Regions from separate parts of the Homo sapiens genome. Here region 1 is linked to region 2. Evidence: promoter capture Hi-C in human tissues and cell types (Jung and others, 2019). All regions are on one chromosome and are shown on one strand. Each heading gives the region's core, a stretch centred on a gene start or on the middle of the fragment in contact. The rest is flanking DNA. Distances are from core to core; before and after follow the strand shown.

What was found. The method cuts DNA at HindIII sites, captures the fragments that hold promoters and counts their contacts. A contact is called where the count stands out against the background at its distance.
Region 1: a contact is called between a fragment that was not itself captured here and the fragment with the promoter of RSPH4A in region 2, in 1 of the 25 tissues and cell types used here (hippocampus).

The regions. Positions count from the first base shown.
Region 1 is chr6:116,579,332-116,582,105 of GRCh38, reverse strand. It overlaps RWDD1 (RWD domain containing 1), which reads right to left. Exons shown (of 7, transcript NM_015952.4): 2 at 1,746-1,811. Among named protein-coding and RNA genes, the nearest start is that of RWDD1, 9.2 kb to the right of the region's middle. The HindIII fragment of the contact is 4,443 bases long and covers 1-2,774 here.
Region 2 is chr6:116,614,994-116,617,966 of GRCh38, reverse strand. RSPH4A (radial spoke head component 4A) reads right to left here and starts at 1,488. Exons shown (of 6, transcript NM_001010892.3): 1 at 658-1,488. The coding sequence starts at 1,343. RefSeq lists enhancers at 1,169-1,288, 1,339-1,438. The HindIII fragment of the contact is 9,568 bases long and covers 1-2,973 here.

The DNA.
Region 1 (2,774 bases), core at 134-2,633, 36 kb after region 2:
ACTACATTATTTTTATCTGCATATATTTACATTTTAAACAAAATTTTATGTATAGATGGATAAAATTTTGCTTAAAATGTACATATTCATATATAAATATAAAATCTCAAAAATAACATGAGAATACTTCCAAGTCTTTATTCAATACAACCATACTTCCACTTTATAAGTATGTCACTGTTTATTAGTTAAGATAGAAACAATGACATTATAAACATCCTTGCATGTATTATTTTGTATTATGATACTGTGCTTAGAATAGATACCCATAAATACAGTAGTCATTGTATCAAAGAATATGAACATTTTCAAAGTCTCCTGCTTCATGATTCCAATAGTTCTCCTGAACATGTGTTTCGATTCATATTCCAAACAGCATAATGCTATCTTCCAATACTAATAATTTGCTGGATATATTATTTTAGCTTGCATTTTTAATTACCTGTGAGATCGTTCTTTTAATACTACCTTTAGAAATTGTATATCAATGCCCTTTGCCCACTTTTCTACTAGTTTGTTCACTAAAAAGGAGTTTTTGGGGAAAAAAAAGTACAATGCAGGATTTAGTTTCAAAGAAATAATTTTGAAAGTATGGTGGATAATGCACTGAGTACACCTATTTCATAGAGCTATTACTAGCTCCTAATAAAGCTATTATTCAGAATATGGGAGCTCTCACAAGAAATTTTTATATTTTATTTTTCATTTCAGCGTAATCTTAAAGAAAATTTTATTTGGATTATTTATCAATGAGCATCACCACACCATTTTGGAACCCATAATGGCATCATATGAAGCCCAAATCATGCCACTGGCTTATTTACAAAGGAAAATTTTAAATGGTTTGAAGAACAGTCAGTATAGTATTTATTTCATGCTTTAAAGCATTACAGAAAAATTTTTAGATACCAATCTGCAAAAGTATATTGGTTATCAATTTGGTAGTAAATAAATGTATTCAATATCCTTTTAAGTCAGATTTCAATAATGTGTGAATGCAAACCTCATTTTCAAGTATACTAGACAGATTTGGAGTTATCAAGTAATACCATAAAAGTTGGCTATTAATGACTGCTCCTGGCAGAATTTAGGTTTACTAGCTTCAAAGGGGGTAAAAAAATGTGTAGGGTTGTTAGTTCCAATTTACATAACCTTTTTATCAAATTACCATATCAACTAACGTGACTAAAAGTAGAAATAAACTTCAGATACCATTCCCCCAAACATCTCCAAATTTAATTTATTTAACTTTAATTTATTGGTTTTTATAGTTACGTTATTTCAAAAGAAAGAGACAGAAACATGCAGACAGACATATATCCAGCCCCATTTATAACACCAAATGTCCAGTGAACAATCTAAATGTTCAAAGAGAAAAACAGCCATGAAAAAATAATAGTCACTCAAAGGAACCACACAACCACTGAAATATGTTTGCACGTGAAGTATTGCTTTGAACAAAACAAAAGTTTCCTACCTTTTTTCATCTGCTGTATTATTAATATTACTATTTCACTTTTAAAAACTAAGCTTATTGTGCCAGACTATATTTCATTAATTTCCTCTCTATTTCCCTAGAAGTCATGTTCACACAGTAAATTCTGACTAGAAATATACAACATTCATAGCAGATTCGTAACAGCCCCTTAGCACCTCCACATGACAATATCCAGCATAATGCCTACAGAATGAGTGAAATTCCTGAGAAATTTAGAAAAACCACAAGTATTTTTTATAAGACTTACTTTCATCATTTTCTCCAGCCTCAGACGTCACAGTAATGGTGAAGCTGGGTGGATTTTCTGATAATACTGCAAGAAAATACACACAGAAGTTATTGAAATGCTTTCTAAGGCAGATGCTTTTCCTTATTAGCAAATTATCAGTACCCAGTCCTAGAAACTGGTCCCTAGGCTATATTTCCATTTCCACAAATACAGACTGAACAGAACACTGAAATGATAAAATTACCATCAACTTTCTATTTAAATGGAGGGTTGTCTTTAATCTGGAAAGAAATAACTATGGTAGATAACCCTCTTGGAGTTTTACCAAGTCAACTGAAAAAATGAGGTAGTTTACCGTTTATTTTAAAATCTCCACCTATACATGGAAAATTACATTCTTAAAAAATCCCAAAAATAATGGCAAAGAGTTTCATGTTTCTCACCTGAAACTACCCACTGATACTCATGTTTCACTGATTTTTATACTTATATATTGTGAGATATAACTCAGAATCTCCATGACAAACAGTAAATACCGATTTGTTAAAGTTTATGTCTTCTTGCTGTCATTCTCTACCACATCATCTCTAAAACCAAACTTTCTTTCACATATGCTTACTAAGCCTCTACCATCTTTCATAGAATTATAAAATGAATTAGCTATGAATGTAAACATCAGATTGCATGTAATTTACTAAGCAAGACAAGACACATAAATCAACATTTATATAAATAACAAAGCTTTGTATGTCATTTTATAGCCTATGTCTATCTAATACTCATCTCTGTTTATCATCTATTCCTCAACAAGAATGCTATAACAACTCTATGAGAGCTCCTAGATCAGTATCTGGCAGTATCTAGAAACTCAATTAATATTGCCCCAATAAAACAAGAACTAAATGAATAGAATGAAAGGAGGAAAAACAGTAACAAAGAAAACTTGTACTCAGAACCATTTGAAAAGTAAACAAGGAAACTTCAAGCTACCAGGGATGGCTGCTAAGCCTATGAGAAAAGCCTATGCCTCACTCCCTGTCCAGGAAG
Region 2 (2,973 bases), core at 239-2,738:
AGAAATCTATACATGTCATAAGTTCTAAAATTAAAGCTATAATGGGATGGGCAGAACATATGTAGACTATTGATCATCACATTTTAAGAGACTTGGATAAAATGGCATGTGTTCCAGGTAGCTTGTATAGTGACCAATTCTCCGAGTTTGCGAGGACTAAGGGGTTTCTTAGGATAAAGAACTTTCAGCGCTCAGCCAAACTGAGATGGTGGTCACCCTAGCACTGCCTGGGTTGGGAACTCAAAAGCCATGCAAGCAATAGCATCTACAGATGAGAGACGTGATTGCTTTCACTGGTAGACAATTATTTTTCACAAGCATCCTGGAGAGATGCTTGGACTTTATGGTCTTTATGGTCTTTTTCAAGCCCGAGATTCCATAATTCCTAAGTTTTATTTTGTTGTGTGCCTAGGGTCTTTAAAGAAGCTGGAGGAAAAGGACAAAAAAAAAAAAAGGTTAAGAAAAAGAAGGTACAAGAATCTCCATTAATGACCTGTTTTGAGTCATGTGATCCAGAGTTATGTCATTAACTCTCTTTTACTAACACAATCTTTCAAATATATTTTGATTCACCCACAGAAACACACTCTCACACAGAGATACTCACACACCCTCTTGCTTTGCCAAACATTTATCTTTTTTCCCTCTGAGACTTACAGATTAAAGCCCGAATTGCTGCTAGTCTTCAGCAGGTAAGCCTTAGCATTCTGAATGGTGATCTCAAGCATGCTGGGGGCCACTTCAGAGCCCCCAGGCGCCGGCTGCTGTAAATCATAGTCACTGTTTGAGTCTTCCTCCTGAAAAACGTCAAATCTCAGCTCTTTCTGTTTAGCGTTGTTATAGCTCACGTCCCTTCGTCCACACAGGTGGGGTTTGGGTTGCTGAGACTGTTGAAAGGTGTTTCCTTCTGACTGGCTTGTGTGATGAGGAGTTGATTCTCTTTTATCAGATGATTGTTCCAAAGGATCAGGATAAGGTGTCCCAGCTTCAGGAATCACACTCGTGGTCCTGTCCGACTGAGGTGGTGCCGCGAGGTCTTGTCTGGCCGGAGCCAGGGGAGAAGGAGAGGAAGAGGGCTCCCGCGGAGAGACAGGAGCAGGTGATGATGTTTCTGGTCCCGCGGGGCCACCCAGAGGCGTCTTGGCTCTAGACTGCGGGCTCCAAGGACGGCTGCTTCGGGACTGGCGTCCAGTTTCTGGCCCCTGCTTCGCCTCCAAGGGCTCAGACGACTCAGGCTCAGAATATTGGGGAGAAGCTGCTGTCTTTCCTTCCCATGGCCGCCTTGTTTCCCCTAGTTCTTCTTGGTTTTCTTTTTCTTGCTTCGGGGAGGTTGAGTCCTCCATGGAAGCAGTTCAAGAAAAAAAATGTTCTGGATGAAAGGGGCGTGAAAATATGGAAGAAGGCAACTCAGTTAAGTTACTTTGCCGCGGTCTCTTAAGCGATTTCTGGGTCCTGGTTGCTCTGTGAGTTGCTGCGTCCTATCTCCATAGCAACCCCAGGCCGGGTTCCTCTCAGAAAAACTCACCGCGCCTGTTGCCAGGATTCGAGGGCGGAGACTAAGAGAGAACGAGAGAGAGAGATGAAAATCCTAGCTTTGTGATTCGGTACAACCCCTGCCCCTCGTTCTATCGCAGCCAATCCGACCTAGACTCGACCAGTCTTGCTTGGAAACCGAGAACTCCAGATCCTGCGCCTTGAGCACAAAGTAGGAAGAATGGCGACCCCATGCGAGAGACCTTTAGGGGTCTGAGACTGATCCAAGTTGTGCTGTGAGGAGCGAGTCGTGCGTTAGTGGAGGGACAGTGTATTCATGAAGCGTGTGTGTGGAGGGTGTGTGTGTGTGAGAGAGAGAGAGAAGGAAGGAAGGAAAGAACGGAGGAAGGAAGGGAGGGAGGGAGAGAGGAGAGTGAGGGGTAGAGAGGGAGGAAGAGACTGACCTTGGTAATCTCGGAGGTGCAGGTAACAATGGGACCCCAGTGTGCTGACCAGGAGACCCCAAGCCTCACATTTAGCGTGCATCAGCTACAACCAACCAACTCTAAAGACTCGGAGAATAGACAAAGCAGTCCTGAGTTTTGTTCTTCCTGCTTATAAGGAATCTCCTGGTGATTAGGCAGAATATTATACTTGAGAAGGCAATGCAGAAAACCTATAAATAGGCAATTCATGGGTTACCCGTTTTCTAATAATTGAAATTCAAATTAACACTAAACTATATTGGCATAATATAATTTTTATTTGATAATGTAAATGTAAATGCATAATTTTGCAATGATTTAAGTTCAAGATTATGACTATTCATTTATAGTATACAGTCTCCAATATGAAGAAGGTATAGAAGATTGGACCATATCTGGACTTAACTATAAACCATATATTAATTAAAGTCTTTAATGTTAATTGTTTTGTATTTCTTTCTCTTTCTAAATATACCAACAAATACTTGGCATTTGACAGTTTACATTGATATAGCTTCTATTTAGCAAGATGTTGCTCTAAATTCTAACTTCATGGAAGAACATAATACTCCTCCATTCAGTGTGGTGAGGGAATCACAGACTAAAATAATTTGATAAAAACTGTGTGCACACACACAAAATGTTGAATATAACTTCTGCTGGTACAGAGACTCTTTAAAGTCAAATGTCTGGGATTTAGAATGCTTGGATTTCTAAAAACAGAACATTAAGATAAACTAGAACAATAAATTCTGGGGTTTTTTGGTAATTGGTGCAAGAGTTGAGGAAGTTAGCATTTTTTCCCCCTTAATTTCTCCCTTGCAGCTGGCAAGCTGTAATGGAGGCTTTTTTTTTCTTTGAAAGACAAGCCAGAGGGCCAGGTGTGGTAGCTCACACCTGTAATCCAAGCAGTTTGTCTTTTTTTCACCAGGTAATCCCAGCACTTTTGTGTTTTTTCTTTGAAAGACAAGCCAGAGGGCCAGGCAAGATGGCTCATGCCTGTAATCCCAGCACT